Regions from separate parts of the Homo sapiens genome. Here all the other regions are linked to region 6. Evidence: promoter capture Hi-C in 16 types of primary human blood cells and fetal thymus (Javierre and others, 2016). All regions are on one chromosome and are shown on one strand. Each heading gives the region's core, a stretch centred on a gene start or on the middle of the fragment in contact. The rest is flanking DNA. Distances are from core to core; before and after follow the strand shown. Region 1 overlaps RAPGEF6 (Rap guanine nucleotide exchange factor 6). Region 2 overlaps RAPGEF6 (Rap guanine nucleotide exchange factor 6). Region 3 overlaps RAPGEF6 (Rap guanine nucleotide exchange factor 6). Region 4 overlaps RAPGEF6 (Rap guanine nucleotide exchange factor 6). Region 5 overlaps RAPGEF6 (Rap guanine nucleotide exchange factor 6). Region 6 holds the start of IL3 (interleukin 3). Region 7 overlaps RAPGEF6 (Rap guanine nucleotide exchange factor 6).

Region 1 (2,700 bases), core at 173-2,672, 590 kb after region 6:
CTAATCTACGTAAAATCCTATATTTTACATCTAGTGTAATTTAAATGTATTTCATATTATTCATTTATAATACTATACTTTAATCTTTTTCATGATAATAGGTAAGTATTCTGTGATACTTCTGTTGGTATGTATAGCAAGTACTAGGCAGAATGCTGCATTTGATAAAATATAGACAAGAATTAATAGTAACAGAGCATTGGTTTTAATGTAAGTACAACCCTTAGAAGTAGTTTTTGGTTATTGATGTTGATGGAAATTTTTTTCACTGCTATCTTATGTTTTTATAGGACTGTTTTGCTTAAAAGTAAGCTAAAATTTGGGGGTATCTAAAACCTAAGTGACAGTGTTTGTTTCTTTGTTTTTATTTTTTCTCTAGGTGGATTTAGAAGTTGCCTATGTCACATTTCTAAAATATTTTAAAGGAAGAATATTTTGTTTGCTTAAATAATTAGACTTGAGAGATTAAATAAGAAATAATGTACCCTTAGAATGAACTTTAGAGACTGTAATTTTCATAATTCTATTTTTTTTCTGGTCCAGTGTTTAAAGACCACTCTTACTTTGTCACTTGACCTTGGCCCCATTGTTATCTATTACCTGCCATAGTTTTTGGTTTGAATGTAGACTCTTTTTCCTAGAGGATCACCAAGATTTTCTGGAGAAAGGGAAAGAGAAAGAGAACACCTTGCTATGGTGTGGCTGTGCATATTTGGATACATGTATTAGTGTCCACTAAAACTGGCAAATTTGAAGGGTTCCCTAAATACTCAGGTTCAGTTTCTTCACCCAAACTGGTAGACACTAAATAAGACAATTTAATTAGGATGTAGTAGAATTACTTAGATGTATAAGTTAGATTTTATTTTAATGTAATTGTTAAAAATTTTAGTGCCATTTTCATCATTACAATTGTCTTTTAAAAATTGCTGTAGTATTTCAGTTGTTTAAATCACCTCTTTGAATTGGTTCTTTTATGCCTTAGTGCACAGGGAACAGAAACGTTTACTACTTAAGTACTCTCAAATACTTTAAAGTGATATATGACATTCTTTTGAAGTGATGGAGGCCTAAGCCAATCACAAGATGACAGCATTGTGGGAACAAGGCACTGTAGGCATAGTCTGGCTATAATGCCCATCCCTGGAACACTCTCATCCAGCAGCCCTGATCTCCTGCAGCCTACCACCAGTATGTTGGATTTTTCCAATCCTTCAGGTAATTTTCATATGTGATTTTATATTGCCGTATTGGTACCAAATGAACAAATAGATGGTTAAGCCTTGTGCAGCAAGTGCTAGAGTTACTTGCAGCCCTCTTAACTCTAGATTATGACTTGATGCAAAAAACTAAAGGGAGATTGACTTGTTCTGTTAATTTGAATGGTACTTCCTCTAAAGTGAAACAGAAGTACATAAAAAAGAGACTACCTCTGGCCAGGCGCAGTGGCTCACGCCTGTAATCCCAGCACTTTGGGAGGCCGAGGCGGGCGGATCATGAGGTCAGGAGATTGAGACCATCCTGGCTAACATGGTGAAACACCATCTCTACTAAAAATACAAAAAATTAGCCAGACGTGATGGTGGGTGCCTGTAGTCCCAGCTACTTGGGAGGCTGAGGCAGGAGAATGGCGTGAACCCGGGAGGCAGAGCTTGCAGTGAGCCGAGATCGGACCACTGCACTCCAGCCTGGGCGACAGAGCAAGACTCCGTCTCAAAAAAAAAAAAAAAGAAAAGAAAAAAGAGACTACCTCTAACCACAGAATTAGGTATCTTTTAGTAATCCTAATCTAAGCAGTAGAATGAAAACAGAGACACTTCTCAGGCAAGATATATCTTACCCAGGGTGTGGAAAAGAATAAGGGAGATTATTTTAATCTAAGTGGCCTCACTTACCTTTTTCTATAATACACAGAAAAGTGTTAGTAATTTTGTAAAAGCAGATTTTTCCTCAGACACTTGAAGCTGAAGTTGTATTTGTCATGTATTGTTATCAGAGCGTTATAGCATAATTTTCATTGTTGTTTGGACTTCCAGTGTGGGATGTCAAGTTATTTTTTTTTTGCGTCTATTCATGTCTTGAGGCAAAAATTGTCACAGTTATATAATCTAAAGTTTTGTTACAAAGAAGAAAACTTTCGACTTTGAATAATTATATATCCATCACTTAACGGATTTGAGATGGTTTTCAATAAAAGGCATATACAATTAAGCACTGAAACATATAATTGGGTCCAAGGAAAGGTGGGAGAAAAAATGCTTCTACAAAGATAAGCATAGTTCTGATTCACCTTCAATTTTGACTCTAAAGTTCCTAGCAGCTAGTGTAGAAAGGGAGGAAACTTAGTTCCATCTCGGTATTAGAAGGAAATATAAGTACAGTAGTAAAGTTCATGTTTTATTATAGCAACTTAAATAAAAACCTCAGGACATAACCTAATAACAGTTTAGTGAAGGTCATTCTGCACATGGTTTCTTCCTTTATATTTCAGTTGCCACTTAACCACTAGAGCGATTATTAAACCCAGTAACCTGTTCTGGCACATCACACTCTCTACATGGCTACCAGTGTTCTTTTTAGAACAAAGATTTAATGAGTCATTACTTTCCTAAGACATTTGTAGTGATTTTTATATTAGTGAAATGTCATTCATGAGACAGAAGACACTCCAGTTATTTGATCCGAAGTTAATGTGAAGAT
Region 2 (2,700 bases), core at 81-2,580, 520 kb after region 6:
TTAACATTGTGAACTTTATTTTGTATTTGTGGGCTTGATAAATCCTGATTGTTTTTAATATGGTATTTCATAAGTACTTTCAGAATGAAATAATGAATGAATAAACAGACTTTTGTTACTTCTAAACTCAGGAAGTTTGCAAATGGGATCTTTGATAATCTTATTTGTATATAAGACAGTGAATGCTGATCACACTACTACTGAGAAGTTTGGATCCCCACCTCTAAGAATCTTCAGCTTTTCAATATTGCTTCTCTTCTCTCTTTATTTACAGCCCCAAATACTCTGAACAGGTGTATATTCTTTGTGATTCTTTCTACCTTAAAAACAAAAGAAGACTTTCTGTTTTTGTTTACGAGTATCTAACATCCTTTAGGAGAATACTCCTCCTTTATCTTCTAGGAAATAATATGGAATTCTTGATAGGTTTTTGTACCTAGTTAGAAGGTATTGAGTCCACAAATAGACAAAAAGCATAGAAGTGATACAACTAAAACTAGGACAAATGCCAAGTTAGAGCAGATTTTGTTTTAATTTTGTGAAGAAATGCTTATTGTAGAAATGTAAAATATATAGAAGAGTATGAAGAAGGAAATGAATTTGCTGTCATCCTCAAAACTGGAGATAGCTACTGTCACTTAAAATTTTTTTAATGTACCATGGTCCCTCAGTATCCATGGGGGCTTGGTTTCAGGACCCCCTGCAGATACTAAAATTCGAGGATGTTCGAGTCCCTTTTATAAAATGGTGTAGTATTTTTGTGTAATCTATGCACATCCTTCCATATACAGTCATGTGTTGCGTAATGACAGACCACATAAATGACATCAGATTTTGCTGCCTGTTTTTACTGTACGTTTTCTGTGTTTAGATACACAAATACTTACCATTGTGTTACAGTTGCCTGCATTATTCAGTAGAGTAACATGCTGAGCAGGTTCATAGCCTGGGAACCATAGGCTGTACCATGTAGCCTAGGTGTATAGTAGGCTATACCGTCTAGGTTTCTGTAGCTACACTCAGTGATGTTTGCCCAAGGATGAAATTGCCTAATGACACATTCCTCAGAATGTACCCCAGTTGTTAAGCAATGCATGACTGTATTTTGAATCATTTCTAGATTACTTATAATACCTAATACAGTGTAAATGCAGTGTAGATAGTTGCTATACTGAAATTTGTAGTTTTTTTTATTGTTGTAGTGGTTTTTTGTTTTTGGTTTTTTAGGTTTTATTTGAGACGGTCTCGCTGTCAACTAGACTAGAATGCAGTGGAATGATCACAGCTCATTGCAGCTTTGACCTCCCAACTCAAGGGATCCTCTCACCTCAGCCTCCTGAGTAGCTGGGATTATAGGCACATGCCTCCACACCCAGCTAACTTTGTTTTTTTTTGTAGAGACGGAGTTTCATCATGTTTTTCAGGTTGGTCTTGAACTCGTGGGCTCCAGCAATAGCCTGCCTCGGCCTCCCAAACTGTTGGGATTACAGATGTAATCACCACCACCCCCAGCCTCTACTGTTATTTTTAATGGGATTTTCCCAAAATATTTTCTGTCTGCAGTTTCTTCAATCTGCAGGTACAGAACCCATGGACACAGAGGGCTGACTGTATATATCTTTTGATTAATTTAAATATTTTAATTAATTTAGATGATGCTGAATGTTTAGTTATGTATCCTTGTGTTTGTGTTTCTCATGCAGTTAAATTTTTTCCAAAACATTACTTTCAATATTAATATAATGCTGTATGAGTGTAACGAAGTATTCTCACGTGGCTTCCAATTTTTCTCCTATTACAAACAACTTTTAGGGAAAAATCTGTACATGACTGATTATTTCCTTAGGATTGAGTTACAGAAATTACTGGGTTAAAGGTATGAAAATTATTTTAAGTTTCTACATGAATATTGGTAACTTCTCAATAGGCATTTTAAAATTGTCTTTATTATTCACTATGTATAAAATGCTTGAGTACTGAGAGGACCAGAGCAGGGCATGCCCCTCTGGTTGTCTGGGGCAGTTCTTCCTCCCTTAATGGTGTGACACTAATTCAGACAGATTTGCCCAGGGAACCAGAATTAGGAAGACTTTTTATCATACTTGAAATATTTTATGGAGTAATTGCTAAAGAAGGAGCTTTTGATAATTGTTTAAAGCAACTCAGATACTAATGTATACCAGTGGTCTAAGACTGATTATGACAGTGTTCCAGTTGGAAGGGGAATAACAACTACTCAGACATAGCAAACAAATTAATGCTGACCTAACGTTATTACCTTTTAGTTTGATTTGGTATGTGTTTATTAAGTGTGCTATCTTGTGTATGTGGCTTTTACAGTGCTAGAAAATGTAGTATTTAAAAGTAGAGAAGGGACGTAATGGTCATCTTTATGAACAAGGGATATAAAGGAACCCAGGAATTCACAGATAGTTTTAAATGAGAGTTCATTTTTTATCATTTATATATGTTACTCTCTTTTTGAAGAAAATTAATACGCTGTTTGAAACTTTAGGTTTGCATATACTTGAGTAACTATATACAAAATGTATCCTTTTGTGCAGGTATGAAGATGCTTGATACGCAGTGTAGACGGAAAGCAGAAGCATAGTGGTGCCTTTTATTGTTCTTTCAATTTCACTGATTCTAATTATAGAAGCTTACATCACCTTGGTTGATGATGACGGTTTCTCTCTCCTT
Region 3 (2,700 bases), core at 138-2,637, 540 kb after region 6:
TTTAACTTTTGTCCCTTTAGCCAGTGGCTGTCACAGGTACTTCTTGGCCTTTTAGCCTTTTCTTTAGGAATCAGAAAATATTCTTAGGAGAAAAAGTAACGTCAGAGGCCAGATACTGTGTGTGTGTGTATGTATGTATGTACTTCAGGTTTTCTGTTTGTCTTAGTACTAGGATTCGTCTGAATTATCTAACATACCATTATCAGCAGGGGAAGTTCGTGATGTACTTTATGTGTAATTTTTATAATTACATTAACTCCTCTTGAGATAACATAATTCAGACTCAGTCATTCCCTCAGAATACATTTAATATACACTATGTGTGTGTTTCTTTAATGTTTTTCATTAGTAAAGCAATGAGGAACCCTATTTTAAAAATTAAATTGATTTTGATAGCCCTGAATAGCAAGTTGCAGAGAAATCATTTGGAAAATAAATTAGCATACTTCTTATGCAAAACTTTTACTACTCTGGAATGCAGTGGTTTGTTTATTGTCTTAATTTCTGTAGCTTGTATTTTGTGAGATGTCTCTTTTACGGCATGAAATATATTGTACAGCCTGCATACCTGGTAAGAATGCGACCATATTAAAGATGAGGTGGTGGAGTCATTTACTTTTTGTGTTTCTTGTATACCTGTGCCTAGTACAGACATTCATTAAATCATGTTGATTACTAAGAAATCTCTCAGGGGCCAACTAGAAGCTAATTCAATATTAAGTGTAAAGATGCTCACAGAATTTTTGGAATATTTAATGTAATCAACTTGTTACTGGTCTTAAGTCTTGCTGCCAGTAGCTGAACTTGATTCCAAGATATTGCTGTTTTATTCTTGTATCAGTCACCATTTTTTATTAGGAGGGAGGGAGGGAGAGTGAGTGTGTGTGTGAGAGAGAGAGAGAGTGTGTGTGTGTGTGTGTGTGTGTGTGTGTGTGTGTGTGTGTGTGTGTGTGTAGGGTAACATTCCTACCCTTAAATGGACAGGTCTGATATTTTTATTTGGGAGGATAGAAGGGCCAAGTTTTTCCTCTGAAATATCATTAGTAATGGCTTTTGAAAACTGTTCAGTGAGCTTACCATTGTAGGATTGTCTAATAGTTTCAGAGAGTACCATATGGTTCTTATTTCAAAAGATCTTTTTGCTGAAAGTAGAGAACTTGGGTTAAAAAAGAGATTGCACAGTAATGTACATAAAAATTTGTTGAACATGTCGAAACCGCTTAAAAAGGTAAAGCTTGACATTTAGAATAACTTAAATTATTTTTTTTTTCAGCTTCCAGCTGATCTTACCAAGATGCATCTCACAGAAAACCCTCATCCACAGGTGACTCATGTGTCTTCTAGTCAGTCTGGTTGTAGCATTGCCAGTGACTCTGGAAGCAGCAGTTTATCTGATATCTATCAGGTAATACCTTAGGAATTTGTATGCTGCGTATATGGTTTTTTTATTTGCCAGATATTCTGTGATTGTGCCTTAGATGGTTAACATATCTTTTAGAGTATGAAATTCAAGCGTAAGGTCTTTAGAAAAATAAGCTTTATATACTGTGTCAAATTTGTAAGCATGATTAAAGACGTGATCTGTCTTTTGAGAATGATTAAGTATGGTTCAGCAGAGTATGAATCTAGTGTTCTCTTTCATTTATCCAGGTGAATCCATATTAATATCTAATGCTTGTTTTGGTTAAAAAATTAGTTCTTGGAATAACTGAACTTAAACTTATAAAAAGGCTGATTTTTGTTATAATTGACTGTATATGTCTTCTGTAGTTAGAAGTCATGAAGAAAATTAGAGCTGCTTTTCTACCATAAAGCCTCTGTTGTAGTCTAGCGTGAATTAAATAGCAAATTAGTGAGAATATTGATGGACTTTTCCATTTTCTAAAACCCAAGAGGAACAATTTCAAACCTACTGAGCTTTTCAGTGATCATTGTAATATTGGGGAGAAGGTTCTAGGAAGACCCATAAACTGAGAGAATCCTCACATGATCCTGCTGAGATTGAACCCAAGTTAGGTTCAAGCCAGGGTAATAAGTATTTCAGGATCCAGATAGTGGAACTTCTATGATGTCTTCTTTAATGCAAGTTGTAAGGAGCAGTTCCCTGGGTGTGGAGCCCAGTGGTTGATTTTGTCAGAGATCATGAGTATAGAACATAAAACAGTTTAAATAAAATAACAAGAGGATGCATGATATTGAGGGTTGGTTTGTTAAGGAATTCAAATATATTACCTATTTCAGAACTGTCAAATAGAAATTTAATGTGAGCCACGTATTTAATTTTAAATTTTCTAGTAGCCACATTAAAAAATATAAAAGGAAACAGGTAAAATTCATTTTAGTAATATATTTTATTTAGTGCAGTATAACCAAATACTATAATTACAACATGTATTTAATGTTTTAACATTATGCATGAGTTACCTTACATTACTTTTGCATATTAAGTCATCAAAAAACAGAGTTTAATTTAAAGTTACAGCACATCTCAATTTGGACTAGCCATGTTTTAAGTGCCTAATAACCACATACGGCTAGTGGCTACCATATACTAAGAATTGTAGAAATAGTATCATTGTCTGAGGAAAGCATTTTAGACTGGTTCTACAAAGTTACCCAGATTGAGATATTTTAGGAAAATAGCCTTCTTCTATTCAGGGAAGTTTGTAGGCAGATGCAAAATGGAACAAAGACAATACC
Region 4 (2,700 bases), core at 50-2,549, 630 kb after region 6:
CTCTACTTTGAATTAATATCATAATCAACTGTTAAATTTATGCAACAGTCATGGTGTCGCATTTAACTACTAAAAATGTGAAGGTGAAATGTGCTGATTTTATAGTTACTTGTCAAATTGCATTATAGGTTGGGTTTTTAGCTCATTCATTTTTTTCCAACTTTTTTTTTTTTTTTTGAGATGGACTCTTGCTGTATTGCCCAGGCTGGAGTGCAGTGGCATGACCTCGGCTCACTGCAACCTTCGCCTGCCAGGTTCAAGCAATTCTCCTCTCTCAGCCTCCCAAGTAGCTGGGATTACAGGTGCCTGCCACCATGCCCAGCTAATTTTTTTATTTTTAGTAGAGATGGGGCTTCATGTTGGCCAGGCTGGTCTCAAACTTCTCACCTCAGGTGATCCACCCACTTCGGCCTCCAAAGTGCTGGGATTACAGGCGTGAACCACCGCACCTGGCCAGAAGTAAAGTTCTTGAAGGAATTAGTTCCTCCGTACCAGCAAAGTTAAAGTTTATATGCTAGGACTGAGAACTAATCTGCCCAGGAGTGCCAGAAAACATTGGTTCATGTCTCAGAGAGAAGGTGAAACAGCCCTTAAACAGATGGCCCAAATGTCATTTCTATGTAAAGTCTCCCAGTTTACAGAGAATCGGTGTGTAGGGTGAACTTTTAAATGTTTCTGATATCTTTAGGGCTGGTGTGACTTCAGGAGTTGTCATGTACTTCTGTGATATGGGGGCTGAATTGCAGAAGGAAGCTTGTCATCAGTGTCATCTCCTTCAACTCTCTCGTTCTATTTAATGTTTACAGGACTTAATATAGTTGTTTATGTATTTTAAAAAGAGGTTTGTTTATTAAACTTTTAAAAAATGTTTTTGATCTGCCATCATTCAAGTTTATTCATTTTGTCTATTTTTAAGTTGTATTTTGTCATTGTAATAAGTTTGTGGGGTGGTTTCTTTTTTTTTCCATTTCTTTTTCATTAACATTTTCATTGCTTATTTTTCATGCCAGTGTACTGTGTCACCTCACCCAAGAAGGACGATAGGTATAGGGAGCCACCTCCCACTCCTCCAGGATATTTGGGGATTTCTTTAGCGGACCTAAAGGAAGGACCCCACACACACCTAAAACCTCCAGATTATAGTGTGGCAGTGCAGAGGTCAAAGATGATGCATAACAGCCTCTCTAGACTGCCACCAGCTTCTCTCAGTAGCAACCTCGTGGCCTGTGTTCCATCGAAGATTGTAACTCAGCCTCAGAGGCATAATTTGCAGCCATTCCATCCTAAACTAGGAGATGTGACTGATGCAGATAGCGAAGCAGATGGTATGTTGACAAGCTCTCTTAAAGGCTCTTAAATGAATTGCTGAACACATTAAATGGTCTTTACTTTGGTATTTTATGGTAATTAGTAATTGTTTCTTTAAATGCCTTGAATCTCTGTTAAAAAGTAAGAAGTTCCTGCCGGCAGGGTGCAGTGGCTCACACCTGTAATCCCAGCACTTTGGGAGGCTGAGGCGGGCGAATCACCTGAGGTCGGGAGTTCCTGACCAGCCTGTCCAACATGGAGAAACCCCGTCTCTACTAAAAAAATACAAAATCAGCCAGGCATTATGGCGCATGCCTGTAATCCCAGCTACTCGGGAGGCTGAGGCAGGAGAATTGCTTGAACCTGGGAGGCAGAGATTGCAGTGAGCCAAGATCGCACCATTGCACTCCAGCCTGGACAACAAGAACAAAACTCTGTCTCCAAAAAAAAAAAAAAAGTTCCTAAATATAGTATGGGGGAGTGTTTTGGTTTTGTTTTATTTTTCAAGATAGGGTCTAACTCTGTTGCCCAAGCTTAGAGTGCAGTGGCACAATAATGACTCACTACAGCCTCAGACTCCTGGGCTCAAGCAGTCCTCCCAACTCAGCCTCCCAAGTAGCTGGGACTACAGGTGCACACCAGCATGCCTGGCTCATTGTTAAATTTTTCCTTTGTAGAGACAGGGTCTCACTATATTGACCAGGCTGGTTTTGAACTCCTGGCCTGAAGCAGTCCTCCCACCCCAGCCTCCGAAAGTGTTGGGATTATAGGTGTGAGCCACCACACCCAGCCAATGGTGTGGGTTGTTTGTTTGTTGAGACAAGGTCTTGCTGTGTCACTCAGGCTGGAGTGCAGTGGCATGATCGTGGCTCACTGCAGCCTCAACTTCCTGGTCTCAGGTAATTCTCCCTCCTCAGCCTCCCAAGTAGGTGGGACTACAGGCACACACCACCACACCCAGCTAATTTTTTGTATTTGAGACAGCATTTTACCATGTTGCCCAGGCTGGTCTTGAACTCCTGGACTCAAGCAATCTGCCAGCCTCAGTCTCCCACAAAGTTGGGGTTATGGGTGTGAGCCACTGTACCCCGCACTGATGGTGTATTTTTTAAATGAAATGGGCAAGCTGCCTATTTCTGTGTGCCTAGTACCCTGTGGCTCAAATGGAATATTCTTATCTTTGATGAAACAGTGGCTCAATCTAATGGGATACTTTTAACATTAATGGAATTGTATTTTACCTTAATGCATGGAAACTTGAAACTGTGTTTCAAATGCCAAATTATCTGAAATGATTCTATTGATATAGTTCCTTTTATTAGCAAAAGTCTTGACTGACTTTGTACCTGTGCCAATAGTTTGAGAAATGATTGTTTTATTGAAAATAAATGA
Region 5 (2,700 bases), core at 169-2,668, 610 kb after region 6:
CTAGGTACCAAAGCAAAGAAGGGTTTGTTTGGTTTTTTGTTGTATGTCCTTGTACAATGACCCTAACACTCTCTATTGGCTTATGTGGACCTCTATTTACTTACACATGTTAACATCCTGATTCCTGAAGACATGATGAATTTGTGACCCTGCCAGACCAGTTTATAATATACTAAGTACTAGCCATACTTCAGTAATGAGCAAAGGAGAAAAACTGATGAGGAAATTAATAAACATGGCTGTTTTCTTGGGAATGGCCTGGATTGAATACAATAAGGTATTGGGGGAAAATAAAAAACATCTTTTTTAAAGATTGGACTGAATTTTTCCTGAATCAGTTTTGTCAGCCAGTGCTAAAATGTAATACCTTTCTTTAAGCAAACAATGTCCATTTTGGTGGTGTATGAGTATCTAGTTTGGACAAAGTAACCCCTTTTAACAGTAATCAATTTGCAGACTTAAAAAATAGAATCTTTAGTCAATCAAACAGGAATGTAAAGATATATAGTATTATGAAGATTTTAATGATATGTTTTTTCTTACATTTTAAGTTGGATTTGCTGGTCAACATTTCTTACAAGACATCTTGTCAGAAATTTCTGCACTTAAAAATGAAATTTTATGTTTTTATGTCCCTTGTAATTTCATTCTGTCACTTAAATGAGTGGCCCAAAAATCTTGCCAGCAAGATGTTCAGAAATTCTATTCCTTTAAGGTCTTTTCCCTTAAAAACTTTGAATTCAAAATTTATATTATAGTAAGTAAATGTTTTTCCTTAAGCTTCTTATTTATATAAGCTTCCTGATGAATTAGGTATTTAAAATATAATTGGTCTAAAGCATATTTTTATAAAGTATTTTGGAGCTTTTTTGACCTTCAGTATATACTCATCTTACCCTCCTGCCTTCCATTTAAAGTCATTTTACTGTTAAGCTGTAATTTTTTCCTGATAAAATGTTTCTGTTCTTTTCTGTCTGCATAGTTTCTCTGACTCTCAACTGTTGTCTTTTTTCTGTGCTTTCCTATTCAAACACATGCTTCAATGTTTGTGGCTCTTGCTTACAGGAAGAAGAGGTGGCGGAGTCTGGGGTAAGTGTAGAGATGAACGCAACTGGAATGAAGGTTGTGCGACTCTTAACATATATTGCATCCTTTTCATTAATGCACGCACATAAAATAGCATGAATTCTATTAACCCTGTCAGCCTACATTCCTGACAAATGCCTTCTGCTAACAAGGTGAAAGTAGTGATAGAACTAGCTATTTTTCCTTTATTTTTCCACTATTGATGCCCTATAAGTCCTTTTTAGATTTTGATTTAGCTAGGTCAGTTAGATGATGATAATGATAGTGAATATTTGTTGTGTGCTTGCTATGTGCCATACATTGTTCTAAGCACTCTAAACGAATTATCTTACTTAATTCTACTACTACCCTATAAAGGAGATACTTTTCTTTCCATAGTATGGATGGGAAAGGTTGAGTTGCCTAAAGTTTTAGTTCATTAATGGTGGATCCAAAACTAGGTAGTCTAGTTCTAGAGTTCACACCACTTTCTTTTATTCAAATGCCACATTTTATAAAAGTAAATATATCATATAAATATATAAAAATGAATGAAAGATGTTTGTGAAGGTTGCATTTTCCATCAGTTTTCTAAAAAGAGGCAGCCCTTATCCAAGCTGTACTATAAAATTGAACTAGAAGATGATTTTATTTCCTCAGACCCACTAATGCCACTTACTTGTAGCATTGACTGAATTTTATTTGAAATTTTTACCAGCTTTAATTGAAGATTCCCTTATCTTTAAAGTTGTGATAGAATCAGCAACTGACACTATTTGTTATAGAGTTAGGTCTCTACTTCTACATAGCTAAGTGTCTATTTAGAATCATAGAATGTTAAAGATCTTATATATCATCTATCTAGTCCTTTCATTTTTAGATGAAGAAAGAGATGACTTTTGTGGATGAAGGGATTGCATAAGAAGAATTTTGTTATTTTAAGACTTGTAGTGAACCATGAAGTTAGAAGCTTTTATTACATGTAAGAAGAATTTTTTGTGAGCCACCTTCTTTATTCGAGTCTTGCCTCATTTGTGGTCTTATTTTCTGTTAATGCTTGGTGAACTTGACTTTCCTTCTATTTTCTTTCTCCCTTCTCTGTGTGTTTCCCATGTGTTTTCTTCTGGATCGCAAATTTATGTCTTGGTCTCTTTTGGCTCTTCTCACTGAAAATAGAAATTGATACCTGGCATTACTATTATAAAGAAGAATACTTGGACAATATCTTTTAGTGGGCATTGGGTGTGTTTGAATGACTTATGTTAACATGTTTCACGTTCATTCAGCTTTAGGGTTACACTGTATGATGCTTACAAACATTAGGTATATTTATTTTATATCAGCAATTTTCTGTTTTCAAAGTAGTTTAGAAAACATTTTATCGACGTTTATCACAGTGTTTTTATTTGTTAGAATTTTGTGTCTCCTAGATTTGTCAACACCTACTTTTTTATATTAACTAAGATAAAAATCATTAAATATTTGTGTTAAAATTTGCTCCTAAATAGCTGCAACTTGATTTTACTGCATTTCTTTGAATTCAAGACAACGTCAATTGTTGGACATATTGTTATTTTATCTACTACTAAGGAAAATCACTGCAGTATCCTGTTACCACTGAGAATTTCTACTTTA
Region 6 (2,700 bases), core at 191-2,690:
GGCTCCATTTGAGCTACATAAAGGGCCTAGGTGGGCTGGGCGCAGTGGCTCAAGCCTGTAATCCCAGCACTTTGGGAGGCCGAGGCAGGCAGATAACCTGAGGTCGAGTTCAAGACCAGCCTGACCAATATGGTGAAACCCCGTCTCTACTAAAAATACAAAAATGGGAGTGGTGGTGCATGCCTGTAATCCTAGCTACTTGGGAGGCTGAGACAGGAGAATTGCTTGAACTCAGGAGGCAGAGGTAGCAGTGAGCTGAGATCGTGCCACTGCACTCCAGCCTGGGCAACAGAGTGAGACTCTTGTCTCAAAAAAAAAAAAAAAAATGGGTGGGGAGGGGGTACCTAGGTGGATCTTTCTGCACTTGGGGGAAAAAATATCTCCAAAAAGAAGCTCTACAAAAGACAGGGGGTTTTCCAAGGGAAGTATTTGTAGCTCAGAGGCTGATAACAGTGTTCATGCCCTGACTGAATTAAAGTCTCCTAGAAATCAAGAAGAAAATCACAGAGACCCCAGCATGGAAATGGGTGCAGCATGTGAGCTGTGAGTGCCCCAAACACAGATGGCCCAGGAACTCAGCAAAGGCTTCCACTTCTTGTTTGACCCAAGAAATGTCATGCAAAGGTGAGACAGAACAACTGCAACCAACTGGAACCATGAAAAATAACTGTAAATGATAATGCCACAGCCAATGAGGGTGGAAAACACAAACTCAATTTTTTAAGGGAAAAAGAAGCTGGCACATCTGAGGGGGAAATTTCTGTCTGTCAGTCCAGAGTCTGCCCTACCAAACACTGACCTTAAGGCCCTTGGTATTCCTCACCTAGAACTGCCTTTTCATTTTCTAATTTAAAAGTCATTTTCATTATTATAGCCATGGCTGTGGCCATGTATTGAACTCTTAAGTGCCAGATGCTGGGCCAGAACATGCACATTGTGCCATTTGATTGTCATAACAATCCCACTGAGATAGGTGCTATTAACCCTATTTTACAGATGAAGAAAGCAAGGCTAGGTAAGATGGAATGACATGGCTGAAGTCACCCAGGCAGGAAGTGGATCGGGATCCACGGGCTGAGCTCTTACCATCAGAATGTCTTGGTCTTCCCCATTGAGGTTGTTGAAGTCCTGTGGGGGTGAAGGGAGAGAAAGGCCCATGAGGCCTTTTGGCCTTAGGCAGCCACCACCCCTCACTGCTGCAGGCCAGTCTTATCCAAGCTACTCACCAGCAAAGGCAAAGGTGGCTGCTTTAAGTGTGTTATAATTTCATCGATCATGTTAGAGCAGTTAACCCAGCTTGTCTTCAAGGGCGTTGTCTGGGTCATGGGAGCTTGGAGTCCGGGGCGGACCAGGAGTTGGAGCAGGAGCAGGACGGGCAGGCGGCTCATGTTTGGATCGGCAGGAGGCACTCTGTCTTGTTCTGGTCCTTCGTGGGGCTCTGAAGAGTTGGCAACAGCCTCCCGCCTTATATGTGCAGCAGCAAGGTGCCCACAACCCCGGGCAAGGCGGGGGGAGGTGGTGGTGTGGGGCAGGCGTCGGAAGGATCTTTATCTGACATGGAACCTCCATAGAAAACCACAGACGTAATTATTCATCCATGACTTTCTAGTACTCAAGATCAGTGAAACAAGAAAAAAGATTACTTAAACGGTATCACTTCATCTTGTCAAGGAGGATGAGAGATGGGAAGCATGGCAGCAGGTGAGAGGACCCCTGTGGCAGGAAGGGGAAGCCTGACTCAGCTCACTGAGGCCTCCTGCCCAGTGGGATCTCATCTGCCATCACCTGGACTACCCTGGCCCTCTGCTGCCCGCCCTGCTTGGTCCTGGTGGGTGGCCAGGAGGCCACTGGAACAGATGAGAGTTTGTCTGGTAGCCGGTCACGCTGCTAAACATCCACGTTCAGCCTCAGGCTCTGAGAAGCACATCTCTTGGTGCCGCTTCCCAATACAGAATTACTGGTGTTCCAGTCCCCAGTGGTTTGTCCCATGGGCTTCGGGCAGCTTCTCCTTGACACTTTGTTTCTGGTGGATGGCCGAGGGCGCTCAGGCCCCAGGTGGCCATTCTCTTACTGGTCTGCTAGCAGTGGCATGGCTGTTCCCTGCGTGTGGGACTCAGCCTCTGCAGGAGGCCCGGCTGCAGCCCCTGGCAGTCCCTCTGGTAGCACCGAGAGCTGAGCTCAGGTACCTGAGGACACTGTCACTGGGAGCTGGGGGAGGGGCTGGCCTGGGAGGTTTAGGAGGCAGAATTGGCATGGTCTGAGGGGTGAGGTCAAGGGAGGAGAAAGGAGAGCAACTCCCTGGTTTCAGACTGGGCCTCAGGCTGCTGGGGCAGGGATTGGCAGGAGACAGTTGTATTGAGAGGTCTTGATCCCCGTCTGTGCTGAGCATGGATTTGCCAGGTGCAGGCCCAGTAGGCAAGGTTTGCAGAGAGGGGATGTGAGTGGGGACAGACCATGGGGAAATCCACAAGGGACCTGAGAAACTGCAGCCAGATAGGAAGCAGGAAACCCAGAAGGGCGGGGGTGGTTATCCCAGAGGGCAGCCCCTGAGAGAAGAGGGGTCCTCCTGATACGGGCCTGTCTTGGGGCCTGCCTGACCCACCCCATGGGGTAGGGGCTTTTGGTAAAGGGATGAGTGTGACAGGGGCATGTGGAAGACTTCTTCAAGATGACTGGCCCCGGGTGGGAGGGAGAGGAGAG
Region 7 (2,700 bases), core at 35-2,534, 560 kb after region 6:
ATTAATGTATGTTTACCACACAGTTATTCTAAACAATGAAATTGTTTGGATGACTGCAACAAATTGAAGGTTGGGTGTTATGGATAACAGTTTTTATATCAGGCTTAACATCTTGTTTGTTTCTGTATTTGTTCTTGTACCAACCTTTGAAAAAGCTACAAAGGGTAATAAACATTGGTTCAGAAGCTCAAAGAAGAGCAGTATGGAAATTTTTGTTTATATTCTTTTTTTTTTTTTTTTTTTTTTGAGACAAAGTCTCGCTCTTGTCGCCCCAGCTGGAGTGCAGTGGCATGATCTCCGCTCTCTGCAACCTCCACCTCCCGGGTTCAAGCAATTCTGCTGCCTCACCCTCCTGAGTAGCTGGGATTATAGGCGCCGGCCACCACACCCAGCCAATTTTTGTATTTTTAGTAGAGACGGGGTTTCACCATGTTGGCCAGGCTGGTCTTGAACTGTGGACCTCAGGTGTTCTGCTCTCCTTGGCCTCCCAAAGTGCTGGGATTACAGGCATGAGCCACACCACGCCCAGCCTGTTTATATTCTTTTATAAAGTTGGAAACAAGCATTTAAAACTCTGAATTAATTTCAAAACTGTCTGTAGAACTTCTGGTTCCTCTCAATATGGTGACCTAGCATGGAGAGGAAACTGTATGAGAGGAACTGTAGAAAAGGAAATATTTATTCTGGGAAGTAACAATAATGAAACAGGCTCTCTTGAACTGGTGTGTTCTTCCTACAGCCTGGTCAGAAAAGATTTTTGAGGTGGATTAAATTTGGAGAAAAGCTTTCTTTTTTCTTTCTTCCCTTTCATTCCTTTCTTTTTCTTTCTTTCTTTAGTTTAACTTTCACCTCTTTTGTTGCCTTGAGACAATAAATACATGCCCTGGTTGTAGGAGAAGTGGCAGTAACAGCCCACACCAGGGCTAAGTTAGTGAAGTTCAAAGGTCCTGCTATGATGAAATGCCAGTGAAAACAGCTTCAGCTGAGTGAGTGCTGTTGGCTATTTATTTCTCTGCCTTTTCTGTCTCTCAACCTCTGGGTGCTGGTGGATTACAATTAAGTTTGCATTCCAATTCTCCCAGCGCTAAGGATTTAAAGGCGAAACTGTACTTTGACGATTTGTCTAATGGAGTAGCTACAAAGCGGAGTAATCAACAATAGTTCTTTGGTTCTTGGGTCATTTGTTTATTTTCTAATCCTTCCTATCCTTGGATTTTTAGGCAACACCTGAGCGTCTCATAATGCATTTAATAGAAGAACATTCCATCGTGGATCCAACTTATATAGAAGATTTTCTATTAACTTACAGGACATTTCTTGAAAGTCCTTTGGATGTTGGGATCAAACTATTGGAATGGTTTAAGATCGACAGCTTAAGAGATAAGGTTGGTTTTATAAGGGGCATGAAAGTGATTTTAACCCAAAATTTTATTCATGAAACTTTTATAGTTGATAGATTACCTGTTTATTATGATAATAAGATTCAGTACACCTAAAAAAATTAATGAACCTGAACCATCAGTATAAACATTCTCTGCTTACTTTTATGACAGAATAGCATGCTAAAAGTGGACGAGAGCCTTAAAAGGCAAAAACTGAAATAAAGCTCTGGTATAGCTATAGGTTCAGGAAACATAATAGTTACATGAGAGTATTTTAGAATTTTACTGAAATACTTGATTGTTTCTGGAGATCAATAAAACATTTTAAAACGGATTTAATATTTTAGAAAGAATATTCATCAAATACATTTTTTTAAGAGGGCAGATTGCTTTTAAGCTTCAAAATGGGAATATTTTTATTTTCTTGAGTTACAGACTTCACAATCATTTGAAAACAATTTATCAAACCTTAATATGTCTCTCCTGTGACTTATTTAAATCTACCTTTTGAGTATTTTTTTGTATTAAATGTTGTTCACTATTTTAAATAAATTAGCTTATTTCATGGGATATGTTTGCACATTTAATGGAAAGACTAGTAATACTTCCACAAATTGGTAAGAAATAAGTTGTTTCAAGAAAATAAAAGTAGGATCATAATTGTCTGGTGTGTCTTTTTGAGTTATATTTTAAAGGAAATAAACTAGTTGCAGGTAAACTGCAGAATTCTTTTATTTAGGAGACTAACATCTAAAACTACAGGCTTGCACACCTCTCACCCTTTTTCTTAGAATTAAATATATTTACCTTGGTTGCCAAGAAAATAAAGGCATGCTTTGGAAATGAACAAGAATATGATTTAGTGATAATTATCCATATGCAAAAGAATGAAAATGGATTACCACCTTATACTATAAACAAAAATGTACCCAAAATGGGTCAGAGACAGAAGAGCTAAAACTATAATGCCTTAAAGATAGGGGTAGATTATCATGGCCTTGGATTTGGCGTTGGTTTCTCAAATATGAAAATATGATACCCAAGCACAAGCAACAAAAGAAAAAAGAGATAATTGGACCTCATCAAAATTAAAATTATTTTTGCATCAAAGGACACTGTCCAGAAAGTTAAGACAATGCACAGAATAAGAGAAAATTATATATCTGATAAAGGTTTAATATCCAAAATACATAAAGAACTTTTACAACTCAACAACGAAAAGACAGCACAGTTTAAACATGGACCAAGGACTTGTATAGACATTTCTCCAAAGAAGATATGTAAATGGCCAACAGGCACATGACAAAGATGTTCAGCA

The links. Contacts are between HindIII fragments. The CHiCAGO score rates a contact against its expected background, and 5 or more counts as called.
Region 1: a fragment that was not itself captured here is called in contact with the fragment with the promoter of IL3 in region 6 in 1 of 17 cell types (neutrophils); the score reaches 7.0 in neutrophils.
Region 2: a fragment that was not itself captured here is called in contact with the fragment with the promoter of IL3 in region 6 in 1 of 17 cell types (neutrophils); the score reaches 8.2 in neutrophils.
Region 3: a contact is called between a fragment that was not itself captured here and the fragment with the promoter of IL3 in region 6, in 2 of 17 cell types (neutrophils and naive B cells). The highest score is 6.5, in neutrophils.
Region 4: a fragment that was not itself captured here is called in contact with the fragment with the promoter of IL3 in region 6 in 2 of 17 cell types (erythroblasts and endothelial precursors); the score reaches 6.1 in erythroblasts.
Region 5: a fragment that was not itself captured here is called in contact with the fragment with the promoter of IL3 in region 6 in 4 of 17 cell types (neutrophils, endothelial precursors, erythroblasts and 1 more); the score reaches 8.2 in neutrophils.
Region 7: a fragment that was not itself captured here is called in contact with the fragment with the promoter of IL3 in region 6 in 1 of 17 cell types (erythroblasts); the score reaches 6.0 in erythroblasts.

What each region holds. Positions count from the first base shown.
Region 1 is chr5:131,471,105-131,473,804 of GRCh38, reverse strand. RAPGEF6 (Rap guanine nucleotide exchange factor 6) reads left to right here. Exons shown (of 28, transcript NM_016340.6): 17 at 1,061-1,218. Among named protein-coding and RNA genes, the nearest start is that of RAPGEF6, 160 kb to the left of the region's middle. The HindIII fragment of the contact is 3,156 bases long and covers 1-2,700 here.
Region 2 is chr5:131,536,624-131,539,323 of GRCh38, reverse strand. The region is part of intron 6 of RAPGEF6 (Rap guanine nucleotide exchange factor 6); the gene reads left to right. Among named protein-coding and RNA genes, the nearest start is that of RAPGEF6, 97 kb to the left of the region's middle. RefSeq lists an enhancer at 2,549-2,700 and a silencer at 2,534-2,700. The HindIII fragment of the contact is 2,663 bases long and covers 1-2,661 here.
Region 3 is chr5:131,520,095-131,522,794 of GRCh38, reverse strand. RAPGEF6 (Rap guanine nucleotide exchange factor 6) reads left to right here. Exons shown (of 28, transcript NM_016340.6): 7 at 1,274-1,405. Among named protein-coding and RNA genes, the nearest start is that of RAPGEF6, 110 kb to the left of the region's middle. The HindIII fragment of the contact is 302 bases long and covers 1,237-1,538 here.
Region 4 is chr5:131,427,527-131,430,226 of GRCh38, reverse strand. It overlaps RAPGEF6 (Rap guanine nucleotide exchange factor 6), which reads left to right. Exons shown (of 28, transcript NM_016340.6): 27 at 1,011-1,325. Among named protein-coding and RNA genes, the nearest start is that of CDC42SE2, 160 kb to the right of the region's middle. The HindIII fragment of the contact is 1,088 bases long and covers 756-1,843 here.
Region 5 is chr5:131,448,412-131,451,111 of GRCh38, reverse strand. All of the region lies in intron 21 of RAPGEF6 (Rap guanine nucleotide exchange factor 6), which reads left to right. Among named protein-coding and RNA genes, the nearest start is that of RAPGEF6, 190 kb to the left of the region's middle. The HindIII fragment of the contact is 1,238 bases long and covers 800-2,037 here.
Region 6 is chr5:132,059,395-132,062,094 of GRCh38, reverse strand. IL3 (interleukin 3) reads right to left here and starts at 1,440. Exons shown (of 5, transcript NM_000588.4): 1 at 1,227-1,440; 2 at 1,087-1,128. The coding sequence starts at 1,388. It overlaps LOC105379174 (a long non-coding RNA gene), which reads left to right. Exons shown (of 5, transcript XR_001742531.2): 2 at 487-624. The HindIII fragment of the contact is 14,005 bases long and covers 1-2,700 here.
Region 7 is chr5:131,497,128-131,499,827 of GRCh38, reverse strand. It overlaps RAPGEF6 (Rap guanine nucleotide exchange factor 6), which reads left to right. Exons shown (of 28, transcript NM_016340.6): 12 at 1,221-1,385. Among named protein-coding and RNA genes, the nearest start is that of RAPGEF6, 140 kb to the left of the region's middle. The HindIII fragment of the contact is 995 bases long and covers 787-1,781 here.